Regions from separate parts of the Homo sapiens genome. Here regions 2, 3, 4 and 5 are each linked to region 1. The links are contacts of gene promoters, found by promoter capture Hi-C in blood cells and fetal thymus (Javierre and others, 2016). All regions are on one chromosome and are shown on one strand. The core of a region is centred on a gene start or on the middle of the fragment in contact, and the rest is flanking DNA. Distances in the headings are between cores, read along the strand shown. Region 1 holds the start of ZNF322 (zinc finger protein 322). Region 2 has its middle 4.6 kb from the start of H4C5. Region 3 has its middle 4.7 kb from the start of BTN3A2. Region 4 holds the start of H2BC12 (H2B clustered histone 12). Region 5 has its middle 12 kb from the start of TRP-CGG2-1.

Region 1 (3,903 bases), core at 1,362-3,861:
AGCTACTTGGAAGGCTGAGGCAGAAGAATGGTGTGAACCTGGGAGGCAGAGCTTGCAGTGAGCTGAGATTGTGCCACTGCACTCCAGCCTGGATGACAGAGCGAAGACTCCATCTCAAAAAAAAAAAAAAATCACGACACTTCCCTAATTTAAAATACTGTTTTCTAGCACACTCAGAATAAAATCCAAAGTTTTTACTGCTCTACATAATGTGGCACCTCTGCGTTATCTTCAGCCTCACAGGCCATCTCCGAGCTTTTGCACTTGTTCCTTCTGCCTAGAATGCTCTTCCCCATGCAGCTTACTCCTTTATTGGACTCAAGTCTCTGCCTGAAGATCACTTCCTCAAAAAGCAGCATACCCTGACTACCTTATCTAAAATAGCCTGTGTTGCTTTATCACATTTTATTTCTCTCCACAGCACTTATCACCATTCAACTTTATGGTATACATTTTATATTTATTCGTTTGTCTTTTTACTAAAATATAACTTCTATTAGGGTTAGGACTTAGTCTTTTGCTTACTGTAATATCCCTACTACCTAGAGTACATTTGTTGAATAAATGAAAAGTGTGAACAAATACCAGAACAAAAAGGCAATCATTATCCTTGGACCCCCAGTAGCTGTATAACAGACTAGACCAGTAGCCCTGGCTGGTTCATCTAGCAAGCCCAAATACATCTTTCAAGTCTTAGCTCCAGGGTACCCTCCTTCAGGATGCTTCTCTTGCCCCATCCTAGGAAGAGACTAGTACTCTTTCCTGCCTAGGGTCGAAGTGAAAGGAATAAACTGGAACACGACAAAAGTCCAAGCAGACAGGCTAATTCATACAACTTGAGAGTTCATGGTTATCCTTAAAGGGTATATGGGACCAAGAGACAAAGTTAGTAAAGCATTATTTAAAAATTAGATGGTGTTTATAGGCCTTAGACTTGGAAATTTCTCATTTATTTTTCATTGATTACATGGATTATCTCATTTAGTCCTCCCAAGGACCCTATGAAATAGGTATTAATACCAGTGTTTGGATCTTATAGATGGAAAACCTGATGCTTAGGGCAGTTAGATAATCACCCAACAACTTACAAATAGTAAGCAGCAGAGCCAGGATTTCAATACCTATCTTCTGACTCCAGAGCCTGCCTAAGCATTAGGCATACTACCCTCTTTGTGCTACAAATCAATCAAAAAGCAATTACTGCAAGCCTAATGTGAATATGCATGCATGTTGAAAAGGAGTAGAAAATAGCCTTAAGTTGGTAGGATAGGGCTCAGTTTTATCACTCTGCTATCTTAGGAGCTAAGAAAGGGGCATTCTCTTTTTCCATATATCTTCTCCCATACTTTCCTGTCTTTCACCCTGCCCCACCCCACACCCCCATCCACATTTATACAGAAACAGAGCCTGGTATACCACTTACCGTAACAAGAAAGACTCAAGACCATCTTCCTTTTGGTTTCAAAAGGTCTCTAGTTCAGAACTATTCACAACACTCAATTCTTGCCTCTCCTAGAGGAAAAATCAATAATGTAGACGATGACCTTGTGAAATTTATAATTCATAATTTTTCTAGAGCTGGCCTAGAAAACTGGTCCCATTTCCTCTCCATTCTAGTGAGCATCCTTCAACCATAGCTTACCTCTTCCCATCTTTGCTTACACTGTTTCTCCTGCAGGAAGTACCTGCCACTGGTAGCCATCAGTTCCGACCAGCTCTAGACAAAATGTCAAGAATCTTTCTATTACTAACTGTAACTTCATAACAAAGCCCTAAGCCTCGTTTTTCGTTTGTTTTTTCTCCTTCTGCTAATTGTTTTTGTTTGTATTATCTCAACTCCTAAGATCAAAGACCCATTCGTCTACCACTACAAACCCCAAAGTGCATGTGATAAGTGTATATAATATAAAGTTATCTGTAATTCCATTTTCCAAAAAGAAATGGTTATAGGAAGATTAAACAAACCAGATTTTTCTGCAGATAGATTCAACTGCAACATAACTAATTTCTGCACTGAAGATGAAGCGAAAAATCCATTCAAGGTCCTTTTTTTCCTCGATATATATGAAAGATTATATTGCTTTGAAAAGTGCCTTGCAGTGTTTACTATCTCTAGGAACTACCGTACTAAGGTTCTCTTCTTTCAACTTTTCATTGACCATCTTTCAGTCCTCCGTCCGCCGTCAGCGGAGACCAGACCATGCTCAGTGTCCAGGAACAGGGGCTGCTCCCACTCGACTGTGGCCGTGGGTCTTGGGTCCCACCGCGCACCCATCCCACCCCTGGGCCCCGCAGGCCGCGCTTACCCTGGCAGCCGCCGGCGCCGCCCCTAGGCCTGGGGACAGCACTTCCGGTTACTCTCCGGACACTCGAATCTGGGCTTCCTGGCGGCCGCAGACTCTGCGATAGTAGATCTAAGGGCCAGGCTTCGGGAAGGAAAGAAAAGCGAACCCGGCACGGACAAGACCTAGGAGCAACTCCCTTCGTGCGCCTAGACTAGAGGAGTTGGGGCCAGGCCGCCCACAGAGCGCTTTAACAGAGCGCTTCAAGGGCCCACAAGGCCGGCTACGCAAACCCTTTCAAGCTGGCTGGGAAGAGGCCGGCGCAGCCCCACCCCCGCAAGTCACATGATCACCCCTCTCCGGCCACTAGGGCGTTCCAACCCCGGCCCCTGGGCCAATAGGAGCCGAGTCTTCGGAAAGGGGCGGGGCCCGGGGCGCCTGCGCTCTGGGAGCCCTCGGCGTTTTGGTGGGAGGGGGTCTTGCTGGCGCAGTGGAAGGCCGGCTGCGGGGGGAGGCGATCGCTGCCACCCTGTCTAAGAAGAAACGGCACCAACAGCGTTGCAGTTTATGTTACAGTTTCCCCAAGGCTGTTAACCGAGGACTCAAACCAGGAGTAGAGTCACAAAGATTAGATGCCACTGACCCTGAGAGAAACACCAGGAAAGATCTGGGAGAGATAGAGGATTCTGAAGCACAGTGGCAGCGCTGTCATCCACGAAGATGTGGCCAGCGAGATGGAAGAAATGCTTTTAAAAGTGGTGGACTTGTGTGGGTGGAGAAAACAGCAGCGAGAGAAAGTACTGTGGGAGGTTCCCCAGTCCTTGCTGATTATGTTTCTGATTTGGAATCAGCTAAGAGTAAATCACCTAGTGGTGGGGCTGGAACAGAACTCAGTTCTTTAGGTTGAACACTGGGTATTCTCCCAGCTCAATTGTTAAATTAAAAAAAACAAACCAACAAAAAACAGTTTTTAAATGTCCTCAGCTATCAAAGGGAAAAGATGAGTAGTAGGAATATGGAAAACTAAACCCTGGGCAGCCTGGCCAAGGACTTGGATTGTGAGCCAGTTGCTGAGGTTTAGTAATTGGGGAGCGCAGTCTCTGAGACACGTATTCAGTATTAACTAATCATGTTCCTACTAGTGGAATTCTTCCGCAGAGGGTCTACAGCTTATTCTACTTTCATGTTTATTTTTAATGAAACTTTCAAGGTCAAAATATTCCACTCAGGGTTGTCTTAATATTTTGAATAATAACATTTTGAGTGTGTAGCATGTATCAAACACTGTTCTAATAACTTTACACTATTGTCTCATTCAGTTGTAACAAAAATCGTGTGAGATATGTATTCTTTTAGGAGGAAACTGGTGCACAGAGAGATTAAGTAGCTTGCCCAGGATCACATATTACTGATGAAGCTGTAATGTGAACAGTCTGATGCCAGATTCTGTGCTTGCAGTCACTATACTTATGGCTACCTCAATAGTGGTGAGTGTATTGTGTAAAATTATTGGAATAAAAATTAAGCAAGTTGGATTCTGATCTCTGCACTGCATATAACAAGGTCTGAATATGTGTAGAATTGAACTGTTCAACCTTTTCTTTCAGGATACATTGGCCCA
Region 2 (4,095 bases), core at 1,042-3,541, 450 kb before region 1:
GAAGCAGGAAAAGGCATAGCATGTGGAGGGAAGAAGTGATATTTTAAATGATATGGTCTTGAAAAATTTTACTCATAAAGTGATAAAGAAAAAATACATTGAGAAAGTGAGAGAGTATTCTAAATAGAATACCCAGCAGGAAAGCATGGAGGTAAAAAGCAGGTATTATGACTGGAAAAAGGGGCAGAGGTGAGGCAGACAATGGAAGGCAGGACAAGGGACCCCTCCACACTTGTTTACTTGCTGTGCTGACTACAGCAGCACCCAGCTCCATAACCTTGCAGCCACTGAAGCTTCCGCTCATAAAATCAGCCAATCAGACATAAAAGAAATAGAACACTCTAACGACAAACATCCTCGCCATCAGCATAGGGACTTCCAAAAGACCTTCCCCAAATGAACATGTGCTATAGGGACTTTGATTATCCTAACCTAACTTTTGCATCATGTTAATGATAAAATTCATACCCCTGCGTGGAGATTTAAGCTGCCAATGAGACCTGAGACACAGGAAAAAGCATGACAAGGGACTGCAAAGGTGTATCCAACAGACCACCCCAAACATGCCATGATGTCACCTAGACGAAGCTCACAGAAGAATAACAAACTAGACTAGCTTGCTTTCAAGGAGCCAGCTGCAAGTATACCTCTGGTTGCTGTCTCCCTTTCTGCTCAAGCCGAAAGCCCTAATAAACTTCCTTGCTCAAGTCCATCTTAGATTCTTGGTCGATTTCTATTTTCTGAGGGTCAAGAACCCACTGCCAGTATCAGACAGGGTGCAAAGAAAAAGCAAATATGATCTGCGAGGCAAATGGAGACGAGTCTCTATATGGCCTTGCAGACCAGTGTGACTACTGTTTTACTCTGAGTGAGATGGGAGCCACTGCAAGGGTTTGATCGGAGAACTGACATAATCTGATTTATAGACACACACACACACACACACATACACATATATATATATATTTTTTTTTTTTTTTTTTTGAGACAGAGTCTCAGTCTGTCGCCCAGGCTGGAGTGCAGTGGCGCAATCTCGGCTCACTGCAACCTCAGCCTCCCAGGTTCCAGTGATTCTCCTGCCTCAGCCTCCCAAGTAGCTGGGACTACAGGTGTGTGCCACCACGCCCAGCTAATTTTTTGTATGTTTAGTAGAGATGAGGTTTCACCGTTTTAGCCCGGATGGTCTTGATCTCCTGACCTCGTGATTTGCCCACCTCAGCCTCCCAAAGGGCTGGGATTACAGGCGTGAGCCACCACACCGGGCCTGATTTTTATTTTTTTAATGAGCTATCTGGATGCCTGATGAAGAATAAACTATGATGAGACCAGGATAGGAGCAAGGAGACCAGTTCGGAGGGTACCACAGTAATGCAGTTGAGATGGCAGTGGCTTGGACCAGTGTGTTAGTGGTAGAGGCTGTGAAAAGTGGTTGGATTCTATATATATTTTGAAGTAAGGTTCATAGTTCTTTTCTGAGCTACTGAATGTGTAGAGTATGAAAGACAGACCAAAATGTATGGATGATTCCAATGATTTTGCCAAAGCAACTGGAACTGGAGGTATCAATTGCTAAAATGTGGAAAAATAAGGAACAAGTTTTGGAGAGGATTCAAATTCTTAGTTTTGGATATCCAGAGAGAATTTAAGATGCCTGTTACATATCTAAGAGAAAGATATGAAAGATATGAAATAGGCAGTTGGCTATAAAAACCTGCAGGTTAGAAAAGAAACATGGAGATATAATTCACAGTCGTCAAACCATAATTGCCGTAAGAGTGAAAAAGCCACAAGATGGGATTAAATATCTTAAGAAAGAAGGTAGATAATAAAGAGAAAAAGTTTTGGGTCAAAGAAGTAAAGAGTGTTTTTTTGTATACATGACATGTGAATTCCTAACTTACAGTTTTACAATTTCTTTCTCCAGTAATTTTCCTTTTCTCCTGTAATTTTCAGAACAAACAATAAATATTATCCCTATTTTACAAATGTGGAAAAATTCCCTTACTAATAAGAGTATGAAATAACACTGGAATCCTCACTTAAATAATCTATTAAAGTTAGAGCCATGGGGAGATCACTTTGGAGATCCAGTTATAGATATTCACAGTTTTTCCAAAATACACCCACTCTCACCACATATTTGGGGACATTTGAATCCCCTGATGCAATTCTATGTGTTCTCAGGCATCCTGAAGCCTATTCGTGGAAACCAGCTTCAGAGCTCTGTATCTGATGCTGCCTTTTCTCTTCCCTTAGCACTGCCACTTCTGATGGCTCTGAGAAGATGGACCTGGAGAATGAAAATCTCCATCTGATTCTTTTGAACTGATATTTCCTTGTTGCTGTGGAGATACTATATATATATATTTATGTCATGAACACTAAATGACCAGCCTACAGCGTTGTACTCCATACTCAGAGACCCTGTTATTTACTTGAAAGTCCAATTAATATGAACTTCAAATTTCAACAGAATCTCGTTATCTTTGCCAAACAGCTAATCTCATCATCTTGAAATTGGTGAATGGCATTTATACACTTTTAGTTGGAATCATCTCTTTTTCTTTCACATCCTACATAATAATCTATCAGTAAGTTCTATGAGCTCTTCCTTGAAAACACAAACAGAATTCAACCATTTCTCATTCCCACTGCTGCTACTCTGGTCAAGCCCTGCCATCTCCTACCTTTATTATTGCAACACCATCATCACCTGGTTCTCCCAGAGGAATTCCAATAAAGGGCAATTCAGATCAGATGACTCCTCTGCTGAAACCCCCCCAAGTGGTTCTCATGTCACTTAATGAAAAACTCAAGGCCGGGAGCAGTGGCTCACGCCTGTAATCCCAGCACTTTGGGAGGCCGAGGCGGGCAGATCACGAGGTCGGGAGATCCAAACCATCCTGGCTAACACGGTGAAACCCCGTCTCTACCAAACATACAAAAAATTAGCCGGGCGCAGTGGCGGGCGCCTGTAGTCCCCAGCTACTCGGGAGGCTGAGGCAGGAGAATGGCGTGAACCCGGGAGCCGGAGCACGCAGTGAGCCGAGATAGCGTCACTGCACTCTGGCCTGGGCCAAAGAGCGAGACTCCGTCTCAACAACAACAACAAAAAAACACCTCAAGGTCCTTTCAGTGGGTTACAGCGCCACACTGTCTGATCCTTGTTACCTCTTTAGCCTCAAATCCCGCTACTCTTCCTCTCCTTCCTAGCCAACTCGACTAGTTCCTGGAACTTGCTAGAAGTACTCATCACTCTCAGGAAGGACGTACTAATGGTTCCCCTTGAGTGGTCCACTCAGCTTCTAGGTTTCTGCAGGTGTTGTTCACTCACTTCCTTCAGGTTTGTATTCAAATATCATAGTCTTCTTGAGGCTATCCATAACAACACTGTTTAGCATTACAACACCTCCCCACCGCCTCCCTCTATATTTTTTCCTGCCCTTGAGGAGCTTTCAGTCTATTTGGTCAGTCAAAACATGCCCTCATGGGAAGCAGAGCAGGAATTAAATATTATATAGAATGTCAGAAAAGAGGCCAGGCACAGTGGCTCACGCCTGTAAGCCCAGGAATTTGGGAGGCTAAGGTGGGTAGATCACATGAGGTCAGGAGTTCGAGACCAGCCTGACCAACATGGTGAAACACTGTCTCTACTAAAAATACAAGATTAGCCAGGCACAGTGGCTCACGCCTGTAAGCCCAGGAATTTGGGAGGCTAAGGTGGGTAGATCACATGAGGTCAGGAGTTCGAGACCAGCCTGACCAACATGGTGAAACACTGTCTCTACTAAAAATACAAGATTAGCCAGGCATGGTGGCACACGCCTGTAATCCCAGCTACTTGGGAGGCTGAGGCAGGAGAATTGCTTGAACTCAGAAAGTTCAGAAAATAGTATAAATCATGTCGGTATTGGAAGAGATGGTTGATGCTTGGACAAGTGGCTTGTTAGGCCAATGACAGGAATGTAGACTTTCTTCTGAACATCGGGAACCACGCAAAATCCCTTTCCTGACCCCTCAACTGTTCTGATTATGTAAAACAATTCTCATATCTTTTACAAAACTATTTCTTGCACTGAGTATATTGAATTCAAA
Region 3 (3,570 bases), core at 439-2,938, 300 kb before region 1:
AAAAGTAATTTGTTTTTATTCTGGAAAATGAGAAAAATAAGGAACTTTTTTGGAGGTTCTAACAAGGGGGTGAGTGCAGCTACTCATATATCCTTAAATGATCCGGCTGGGCGTGGTGGCTTATGCTTGTAATCCTAGCACTTTGGGAGCCCAAGGTGGGCGGATCACTTGATGTCAGGAGTTCAAGACCAGCCTGGCCAATGTGACGAAACCTCACATTGTGAGGGGGCCTGGGGCTAAGCAATAGAAAAAATTTGCTGCTGAGCATTAGGAAGTTTCTCCCTCTCAAAACTGTGTGCTCAAAGAGGATGACCTTTCCCAATAGAGGAGGCTCATTCTTATTTTTTAATTAATTAATTAATTTATTATTATTATTATTTTGAGATAGAGTCTCACTCTGTCACCCAGGCTGGAGTACACCCAGGCTCACTGCAACCTCCGCCTCCCAGGTTCAAGCAATTCTCCTGCCTCAGCCTCCCAAGTAGCTGGGACTACAGACATGTACCACCACACCCAGCTAATTTTAGTATATTTAGTAGAGACGGGGTTTCACCACATGGGTCAGGCTGGTCTCGAACTCCTGACCTCGTGATCCACCCGCCTTGGCCTCCCAAAGTGCTGGGATTACAGGCATGAGCCACCACGCCCAGCCTCTTTCTTCTTTTATTGCAGACCTCTGGGATTCAGTTTACCATGGCCCTTCTCTCAACAGCAGCCACCAGCAAACCACTTAACCCCTTGGGCTCCTGCTTCCCTTCAACCAAGAGCAACAATCATCCTTTTCTTTTCTTTTTTCTTTTTTGAGACAAGGTCTCACCCTGTCACCTAGGCTAGAGTGTAGTGGCATGATCTCAGCTCACTGCAGCCTCTGCCTACGGGGTTAAAGCGATTCTCCCACCTCAGCCTCCCGAGTAGCTGGGACTACAGGCATGTGCCCCCACGGCCAGTTAATTTTTGTATTTTTTGGTAGAAATGGGGTTTCACCATGTTGGCCAGGCTGGCCTCGAACTCTTGACCTCAAGTGATCCGCCTGCCTCGGCCTCTCGAAGTGCTGGGATTACAGAAATGAGCCACCACGCCTGGACAGAAATGTTAAAATTTTAAAAAATTATTTTAATGCCAATTTAAATCTAAAAATTGTAACCTAAGCAGACTCTATATCATCTGGTTCACATCTTTATAATCAACTGTTGTGGAGTGGTTCCAGTTTCCAAGGAAACTACTGTTTATCATATCAGTGACCAATGACTTCCCTAATAACAAATTTTAACTTTTAATGCTGCATTTTTTAACTAGTTCCCATCTCTTTCAGTAGTTAGAAGACATATTTTCAGATGTATTATAAAAATTAGTTTTTGTCTAAACAAGTTTTTTACATAACTCTGCTGAAGAAACTCTGGCCTGAAAGATGAAGTCCAGCTTTCTTGGACTTTTTTTTTTCTTTTTCTTTTTCTTTTTCTTTTTTTTTTTTCGAAACGGAGTCTCGCTCACTCTGTAGCCCAGGCTGGAGTGCAGTGGTGCGACCTCAGCTCACTGCAACCTCTCCCTCCTGGGTTCAAGCAATTCTCCTGCCTCAGCCTCCCGAGTAGCTGGAGCTACAGGCACCCACCACCACACCTGGCTAATTTTTGTATTTTTAGTAGAGACGGGGTTTCACCATATTGGCCAGGCTGGTCTCGAACTCCTGACCTTGTGATCCGCCCACCTTGGCCTCCCAAAGTGCTCGGATTGCAGGCGTGGGCCACCGCGCCCGGCCTCCTTGGACTTTTTATCTGCATTGCAGGCACTCAGTGGTCCAGGCCACCTACTTCTGCTCTACCTTTGGACATCCTGGCAATGTGCTGCTCCTCAGCCTGACCACAACACCTGCAGTGTCCCAAACATATCATGCAGTTTCATGCCTCTGCACCCATTTCCTCTCCCTGGTCAACACACCTGGGTGACCCCTATTCTACTCACTCAGACAAACCAGGACAGGATCCTTGACCTTTCTGCAACTCTATTTTTCTCACCTAGAAATAGAATTAATGACATCTACTTCTTTAGCAGATGTTTAGGAATGAGATACGGTGTGGAGAGCACCTGGTGCGAACACAGCGCGTATCTGTGATAGTGACCGTTAGCCGTTATCCTCATCACCACATCCTTTCCCCACATCTCAGATGGTGCCACAGTCTACCACCTCAGAGAGAAAATAGAAAAGGGAGGTCCCAAACTTCCTGCTCCACCACCTATACCTGTCCCTCATGATCTGTTTCCTCTGATTTCAACAAGCAGGTGTTCTTTCTCCTGTCTCAGGCTAATTCTGCACCCACATCGGGGAGCCCCCACCCCAGCTTCCCTCAGGCTTCTCTATTTGGTCAATTCATTAATTCATTCATTTGACAAGGATCCATGAACGCTAACTATGTGCCAGTCACTATTCTAGGTGGTGGAGTCACAGAAGTGAACAAAACAGAAAGTTCTCATTCAAAAACAACATAACTTGTGGTAGGAGGCAGACAGGAAATGAAATAATTAGTAATATATATGGTGTGCTGGATGATGATAAGTGCTCAGGAGAGAAATAAACCTGGAATAGCAGAACTTGCATTTCTTTTTGAAGGGGTCTTGCTCTGTTGTTCAGGCTAGAGTACATTGGAGTGATCATAGCTCACTGCAGCCTAATTTTTTTTTTTTTTGAAAGACAGAGATCTTGCTATGCATACTGCCCAGGTTCTTGAACTCCTGGCCTCATGCAATTCTCCTCCCTCGATCTTTCAAGGTCCTGTGATTACACCTGTAAGCCCTCGTTCCCGGTTGGAAGTTACAGTTTAAAATAGGGTGGTTATGAGCAAGGGGAGCGAGGCACAGAATACTTGGGAGAAAAGCATTCCGAGTTGAGAGAACAGCAGTGCCAGAGCACAGAGGCAGAAGCACTGTGGTTTGTGTGAAGAAAAGCAATGAGGCTGGGGTGCGCAGAGCACACAGGGTGATCAGGAGAAGAGGAGGTGACAAGGCCAGAGGGGGTTGAGGGCCAGATCATGTATGGCCTTGAAAGTCATCATGCTGACCTGGGCTTTACCTCTGAGAGGGGAGCCACTGGAAGGTTAGAGCAGAAAAAGGACTGGACTGACTTATGTTTTAAGAAGTTACTTCACATGCTAGACCAAGATGGGCTGTGGGTAGGGGTGGTGGATGGAGGCCTGAAGACCCAGCTGGGAGCTACTGCAGTGATCCAGGGGAAAGATGCAGATGACTTGTACCAGGGAGGAGCCATGAAAATGTTATGATGCTGGATTTATTTTCAAGATAGAATAAAAAGGCTTTGCTGATAAACTTACAGGTGGGGTGTGAAAAAGGAGGGCATCAAGGGTGACCACAAGGTTTTGGTCCTAAGAAACGGTACAGATGGAGTTGCCACTTACTGAGATGGGGAAAATGAGGGAGAAACCGCTTGTGGAGGCCAGAGGAGGAGCCAGCACAGAATCCAAAGGTCAGTTTTGAATATGTTGGGTTTGAGGAGCTTACTAGAGATTCCCGTGGAGATGTAGAGTAGGCAGGTCAATAATAAGCTTGCAGTCCAGGCAA
Region 4 (3,575 bases), core at 526-3,025, 490 kb after region 1:
TATAGGTAAACAATAAATATAATTATTTGTTGATACATTTCTTAGAATATTAATGTAACCCCAAAATTACTGGTAGGATAAATAAGACTTGGATCAACAGTGAACATATGCTTTGCATGTATGAAGTTTTTCAATATGACCCTGCTAATCTCCAAATGCCTAAGGGCGGGCAATATCCCCAAAGACTAGAACAATGCGTGGCCAAATATGTTAAATACACACACACACACACACACACACACACACACACACACACACAAAATTCCCCTGTGAAACTGGCCTACATTTCTAAATCACAAATTTAGCCAGGTAACAACCTAGCTTAAAATTCGTGGACTCTTTCTTTCACTTGGTTCTTCCAAAAAAGTTTCACACTGCTCATCACCGGCATAGTCATTCTAGCCTCTAATCACACAATAAAACCCACCACCTAATTCTAACCCACCACCTAACACTTAGCTCAAACCCTGTGCTGCTGGGGAAGTTCCCTTCTCCTCTACTCCAACTTCTTGCTTCGGGGCGGACTGTCTCTAGTCTGTCTGTTGTCTCCCCTCTGAATCTACTTGCTTTTCATTTTCCTTTTCTATAAGCTTTCTTGTCAAAAGGAAAAATTACTGATTGGACCAATTGACGCTGAACATGCCTTAAAAACTAGTAAACTATTCCAAAAATCTCCGTGATGATTTCATGTTCCGTTTCTTCACTCCTGAGAAAAGCTGTGCTCCTCCCCTTACCCTTGCAGACTATCCTGCCTGGTGGTCTGGCATCTTCCCGATGTCCCGTGGGCTGCAGAGATGGAATCAGGGGGTGAGGGGGAAGCAAAGCAAGGCAGAGCTGGGTACAGCCTAGAAGAGGTTAAATAAGGTAACTGCTCGAGCGAAAGCCATACGTACTGGAACGCCATCGGGAACCAAATTTACTAATATATAAACTCACGTTAGAACGCCATTACATGGTGGAAAGTACACGTGACACAATAGGCTTTCAACAAGTTCTAACAGGAAGTCACAGCACTCGACACAACGGAAGTATCCATTTTCGCGCCAAGAGCCAGGAAGCACTTTCTGTTAACACAAGTTTCCTGCACATCCCTAATTTTTTAGGCGCCATATTCCTCACTCAGTACTAACAAAGTGTATGTGGCTTCTCCTTAGCCAGACTCGATTACAAGCACTGCATGCATTACTCAGTGTGATAAGATCATGATAATCCCTTTAAAAAGATCGCCCGAATTTAAGCCTGGATTAGGAACACGTGTTTACAGCTCTAATATCGATAATTTAAGTGGCTCTTAAAAGAGCCTTTGGGGTTGGGCTTTAAGACGCTTACTTGGCAAGTTTACTTAGCGCTGGTGTACTTGGTGACGGCCTTGGTGCCCTCGGACACGGCGTGCTTGGCCAACTCCCCGGGCAGCAGCAGGCGCACGGCCGTCTGGATCTCCCTGGAGGTGATGGTCGAGCGCTTGTTGTAATGCGCCAGGCGGGAAGCCTCACCCGCGATGCGTTCGAAGATGTCGTTGACGAAGGAGTTCATGATTCCCATGGCCTTAGAGGAGATGCCGGTGTCGGGGTGGACCTGCTTCAGCACCTTGTACACGTATACGGAGTAGCTCTCCTTGCGGCTGCGCTTGCGCTTCTTGCCGTCCTTCTTCTGCGCCTTAGTCACGGCTTTCTTCGAGCCCTTCTTGGGCGCGGGAGCGGACTTCGCTGGTTCCGGCATGTTGAAGGCGAACTACGAGCCTGAGACGAGCAGCAGATCGAGAAAACGGGAAGTAATGGGAGCAAGGTACCAGGAGTCGTTTTTATATAGGACCTCTCATGCAAATAAGGTGAAGAGTGAAAGTCCTGTATCTGATTGGTGGTTATTAGGGTGACGTCAGAGGTTAGTTATACCCAATCAACCCAATCTGCAAATCCAAAAGACGTACTTCCATTGGTTAAAACTAAGCTACAACCCTAACCAATGACATATCTTCTTTTTCGCGCCCAATAGTGTTTATAAAAGGCGCTGCCTTTCCTCGTTGGCTACTTTCAGTAAGTTGTGACCAGTATGTCTGGACGTGGCAAGCAAGGCGGTAAAGCTCGCGCCAAGGCCAAGACCCGCTCTTCTCGGGCTGGGCTTCAGTTCCCCGTGGGCCGAGTGCACCGCCTGCTCCGCAAGGGTAATTATGCCGAGCGGGTTGGAGCCGGCGCGCCAGTGTACCTGGCTGCGGTGCTGGAGTACCTGACCGCTGAGATCCTGGAGCTGGCTGGCAATGCGGCCCGCGACAACAAGAAGACCCGTATCATCCCGCGTCACCTCCAACTGGCCATCCGCAACGACGAGGAGCTCAACAAGCTGCTGGGCAAAGTCACCATCGCGCAGGGTGGTGTCTTGCCCAATATCCAGGCCGTGCTGCTGCCTAAGAAGACTGAGAGCCACCATAAGGCCAAATAAGGAGCGAGGTTGTGAAAACTGGAAAACAAAGGCTCTTTTCAGAGCCATTCTACACTGTCTTAGAGAAAGCTGGACACAGTCATGTTTGTTTCACTTCATGTTTGCTTCGCTAGATAACATTGTAAAGCGCTTCTTTCGCGGTTGGGCTGGAGCAACTCTTTACAATGTTTCTAAATTAACCCACTGGAAAGCAATGAAGACCCAAAAGTTGTTGTAGGATACTCCGGAGAAGCTTATTCAGCAGGGGTAATAAGTGAAATCAAACGTACAAATCCCTGAAATCTATTTACTAATTCCAGTGGTTTTTTTTTTTTTTTTTTTTTTTTTGAGATGGAGTCTCCAACAGGCTGGAGTGCAGTGGCGCGGCGCGATCTCGGCTCACTGCAACCTCCACCTCCCAGGTTCAAGCGATTCTCCTGTCTCGGCCTCCCGAATAGCTGGGATTACAGGCACACACCACCACGACCGGCTAGTTTTTTTGTATTTTTAGTGGAGACGGGGTTCCACCATGGTGGCCAGGCTGGTCTCGAACTCCTGACCTCAGGTGATCCGCCCGCCTCGGCCTCCCAAAGTGCTGGGATTACAGGCGTGAGCCACAGCGCCCGGCCTCCAGTGTAATAATTCTATTACATTAATAGTGTTGTCAAACAGCCATAAAAATGGGATATACTTGCCATTCTTTAAAGGCAAATTTTGCAATTCTAAGTATTCTTGAAAAGCAAGAAAGGGCAGCCTGATTCTTAAGTGGTCTAACTCTTAAGAGTAACTTTACCCAGGTGATGAAAGTCTAGTGACTCATTTGCATTAGAATTTGATTCCGATGGAAGGAGAATATGGGATGCAGAATTTCCTGAATCCCATATTTGTAAATCCTTAGTCCCATTTCTTTGGAGCAGGTGTATTAATGCACTCTTGTAGTAGCTTAGGATACAACATAGCTTTTTCTGTCTAGCTAATTTGTATTATCAAATTTATTAGATCGGGATTGCTATTGCTTTTGATTGCTTGTCCACATTAATTTACCTACCCTAGGAAGCCCTATGAGTTTCCTTCCTCCGCCCCACCCCCTCTTGATATTACTTGGCCTGCTTTTACTTCATAGCCTCAAGGCTTTCTGGCTATTCCCACAAAATGCCAAA
Region 5 (3,653 bases), core at 551-3,050, 420 kb after region 1:
CATTGAAAGTTAGGTCTTTTCCTTCTCCCTCATTTATTCATTTTAATTGTGGACTAATGGATTCTTGTAGTATCCAATAGGTAACAATCATTTAAAATCATTATTCAGTTTGATTCTCAAATTTTCTCAAATTTGGCTGGAGGGAGTCCCTTCAAGCTGGCTCCCTATTTGACAGATTCTCACCATTCTTTGAGCTCATTCTTACTTTTTGACACAACAAGATTCTCTAGGCTCATCTTGCATCTTGTTTTCAATGTCATTTTACATAAGAAAAAGTATAGCAATGGAGAGGCCAAGTAATTCATCAAATATTGCCCATCCAATGTAACCCAGCCAGAAATCATTAAAGTTCACATGTAAACCCCGAAACTGTTGAGACAGCCGAGTAAAAAGGGCTCCCCAGAGAACCTCCGACCCACCTGTGCACTGGGAAAAGGGGGTGGAGCCACGAAGTTAGCGTGGTTTGCAGAGGGGAGGAGCCCAGCCTCTTGTGTTCCTGTGTGGTGGGGCAGGAGCAGGTTAACAGGCCTCCCTCTCACTCTGCTGAAAGTATTTCTTTTTCCTTTTTCGCGCAATAAATTCCATTTTTCTCACCCTTCTATGCATCCTCAAGCCTAATCTTTCCTGGTTATGTGACAAGAACCCGGTTTTTAGCTGAACTAAGGAGAAAGTCCTACAACACTGCCACCATGTGGCAATTACTCCAAATAGAAGGAGAGGCTGAAGGACACACAACCAGGATGCAGAGAAAAAGATGGAGACAGAGTCTGTGCAAGATGGGATTGATACTGAGACTGGGTTAGCCACCTCTCCTAGACAGTGAAACAGATCGCAAGAGAGGCTGACCCAGAAAGACACATGCAAAACAATGGGCAATAGAACACATGACCTGAATTAGATTATCTGGGTTCAAATCCTGATTTTGCTATTCATTATCTGTGTATCACTGGGCAATTTACTCAATCTCTCTGTGCCTGAATATCCTCATTCAAAATCAGGGATGAAAAGAGTACTTATCTCAAAGGGCTATTTGCTCACTTATTGCACAAGTAATTTGGCATCTGATATGAACCAGGTGCACCTCTAGATGAGGATACTGTCACATTGAATGAAGACCAGTGACCAGAAGCCTGCCTCACAGCCCAGCTCAGTGAGAAAAATAATTCCATTCTCACCTCTAATCTCAACCCTGTGTCACCATTTATGTATAGTCCTTTGCATTAGTGTCTGGAAAGGTCATTTTTTGAGGGCAGAATGAATAACCTATAGAAGGATCATTCTTGGGTATAATGAATTAAAGAAGTATTATGAAGCTTTATAAGGCAGGATTAGCTCATAAAAATGGAGGGTTCTTTTGCTTTTCCAGTCCCATTTGTTGTTTCACAGACAAAGAATAAAACAATCACTGATGGCAAAGACTGCAAACTGCCAACGTTCATCGGTAGAGCAAGGTGACGCTCGTCCTGTCCAGGCCTGTGGTTGGGATAAGCTCAGAAAGCAGAGTCTCCAGGGCTGGTCATCATCTATCATAACCCTGCGTATAAAGAAAGCCTTGAGAAAGAAAAGAAGTGACTTATTATGTGTCTTCTGACCTGGTTCTCATTTTTATTCAAAACATTAGAACCTTGGGAAGATGAAGAGAGGGCCAGAAAAATGGGAAACCCTGGATACAGAAACTTGGCTAGCTGTTTACTTTTTCACTGTACATCTTTCTATTGCAATAGTTAAACCCCAATTAAGACTGAAATAACTCCTGAGGCAAACAAACGTAATTGTGGAGACAGAGGGGAAAATGTACTTCAGGGACTAGGATCCTGCAGAGGGTTTCCGTCTTCCTGACAGAAAAACAACTTTGAAAATTTGAGTCCTGGTAATAGTTTGTTAACCAAGAACTCTACAAATCCAGAAGGCACAAACATGGCTTGGGGAGCCTTACCTTGCCAGAAGGACTAACCCAGAGCTTTACTACACCATAGCTACCAAGGTGAGTAGACCTGACAATTCTTTTATTTATTCACATATGCCATATAATATTTCCCTCAGAAGTATGCATCTTGCTTTGTTCTTTGACTAAGCAAGGGAGTTTATGTGAGCCAGAGGACCTTGACTCTGCATCTAATCTTTACCTGGGGTCATAAACATGAAGGGGACCATTTCCAGAAGATGACCCTAGAAATGCTTGAGCATCTTTGTCCCAGTGTTCAGGATCTTGTACTGTAAGAGAGGTCCGGGGTGGTTCTTCCTATAAGGTTCCCTCTTTGGTTTCATCCAAAAATCACAAAGATAAAAAAGCTTTTCAGGTTTCTAGAAAAAACTCATTTTTAGGCTTACATTTTCACCTGCATTATAACTCTATCAGCATTATTAGCTTTCATCAAATTTCTTCATATCGTTTTTGGTGCATTTCTGTGATTTGCAAGTGGGCCAACTTTGTCTTTACCTATTAAGTAGTTAATTCATTAAGAAAGAGATAGAGAGAGTGTGTGTGTATATCTTGAAGGTTTTCTTTCTGCATCCATCCTTAAAGTCTCCTAATCCAATATATAATATTGTATCATATACAGAAGTCAACTTCATTAACCATATGCCAGTTTAATGGAAGCATCTATTAACAATCATTATGATTAAAAATCATACTTGCTCTTCAGAAATTTTCCACTTTTATTTTTGGCCAGGCTATAAGTAAGTATAACCTGATGTAACCCTGTAAATTTACCCTGGCATTATGTAGCAGGGAGCACTAATCTCATTTTCAGTTGAGAAAACTGGAGCTGAAATGGGTGCACTTCCTTACCTGCCTAAGCTATTAGGTATTAGAACTGGATGGAGCACTACACATCTATCTGAATGTGAAGCATGTTTTTTCAAATAGTTTTCAATCATGATTCCAAAAACAACTTGGAAGACCAGTCACCCTTCCTTCCTCTGATATTTTTCTTATTATTCAGTCAAAAAAATGGAAGTGTCTTATTAGTATTACAGAAGCTAATCTCTAATCTGAATCAGAGCTTTGGAACCTTGGGAAGATGAAGAGAGGGCCAGAAAACTGTGAAACCCTAGAAAAAGATAAGAAGAAACAAACATAAAAATATTTGATAAGGACATCAGGGTGGTGAAGTGTATGCAGGACATTCATTTTTGACAAATTCCAGGTTTCTGACTAAATATGTAACCAGTTCTTACTCCAAACCTATTAGTCCATACTGCTCTTCTTGTTATTAAAGCCTGTAGTTCATTTCACTATAGGCTATCCAGTTCAGATCATGTAATGCTTTGTTTAATGCATTGATATAGATGTTAGTCTCTTCATTTGGCACTGGAGGAAACTGAGGCAGAAAAGCAATAACTAATATTCCAAAAGTTATAAAGTTTCCTGGTATAAGACCTGAGTACAAGCCTAAATTCAGGCAGTTCACACTGCCAGGGACCTTTAAGACAAATTAAGATAAATCTAAGGCATCTCTTAGTGATTAGTAGAAAATGAAAGGGGACAAGGCTTATAGAAAGGTTAGATCAAACATCCTGGTTTCTTTTGTTTTGGGGGATTTATTTGTAGTTTGATGTAAGTTCTGGAAAAGAAGTGAGATTGGAGAGGTTGATTGTGAAAGAGTAAAATCCTGTTCAGACAAAAAGAGTAAAAATTAGCTTGGACT

The links. The method cuts DNA at HindIII sites, captures the fragments that hold promoters and counts their contacts. A CHiCAGO score of 5 or more calls a contact.
Region 2: a contact is called between a fragment that was not itself captured here and the fragment with the promoter of ZNF322 in region 1, in 1 of 17 cell types (neutrophils). The highest score is 5.2, in neutrophils.
Region 3: a contact is called between a fragment that was not itself captured here and the fragment with the promoter of ZNF322 in region 1, in 1 of 17 cell types (neutrophils). The highest score is 5.6, in neutrophils.
Region 4: a contact is called between the fragment with the promoter of H2BC12 here and the fragment with the promoter of ZNF322 in region 1, in 1 of 17 cell types (monocytes). The highest score is 5.1, in monocytes.
Region 5: a contact is called between a fragment that was not itself captured here and the fragment with the promoter of ZNF322 in region 1, in 5 of 17 cell types (M1 macrophages, M2 macrophages, M0 macrophages and 2 more). The highest score is 8.5, in M1 macrophages.

The regions. Positions count from the first base shown.
Region 1 is chr6:26,657,135-26,661,037 of GRCh38, forward strand. ZNF322 (zinc finger protein 322) reads right to left here and starts at 2,612. Exons shown (of 4, transcript NM_024639.5): 1 at 2,307-2,612; 2 at 1,424-1,512. RefSeq lists enhancers at 2,042-2,542, 2,263-2,312, 2,323-2,512, 2,543-3,043, 2,743-2,802 and 1 more. The HindIII fragment of the contact is 5,113 bases long and covers 1-3,903 here.
Region 2 is chr6:26,207,173-26,211,267 of GRCh38, forward strand. No RefSeq gene overlaps it. Among named protein-coding and RNA genes, the nearest start is that of H4C5, 4.6 kb to the left of the region's middle. The HindIII fragment of the contact is 4,000 bases long and covers 292-4,095 here.
Region 3 is chr6:26,358,762-26,362,331 of GRCh38, forward strand. No RefSeq gene overlaps it. Among named protein-coding and RNA genes, the nearest start is that of BTN3A2, 4.7 kb to the right of the region's middle. RefSeq lists an enhancer at 2,265-2,314. The HindIII fragment of the contact is 3,727 bases long and covers 1-3,552 here.
Region 4 is chr6:27,145,080-27,148,654 of GRCh38, forward strand. It overlaps H2BC12 (H2B clustered histone 12), which reads right to left and starts at 1,776. Exons shown (of 1, transcript NM_001312653.2): 1 at 1,282-1,776. The coding sequence starts at 1,719. The coding sequence ends at 1,339. H2AC12 (H2A clustered histone 12) reads left to right here and starts at 2,027. Exons shown (of 1, transcript NM_080596.3): 1 at 2,027-2,483. The coding sequence starts at 2,050. The coding sequence ends at 2,436. It overlaps MIR3143 (microRNA 3143), which reads left to right and starts at 2,547; the gene lies at 2,547-2,609. RefSeq lists enhancers at 674-783, 1,203-2,119, 1,374-1,833, 2,164-2,413. The HindIII fragment of the contact is 2,078 bases long and covers 589-2,666 here.
Region 5 is chr6:27,078,386-27,082,038 of GRCh38, forward strand. No RefSeq gene overlaps it. Among named protein-coding and RNA genes, the nearest start is that of TRP-CGG2-1, 12 kb to the right of the region's middle. RefSeq lists a silencer at 371-450. The HindIII fragment of the contact is 979 bases long and covers 1,312-2,290 here.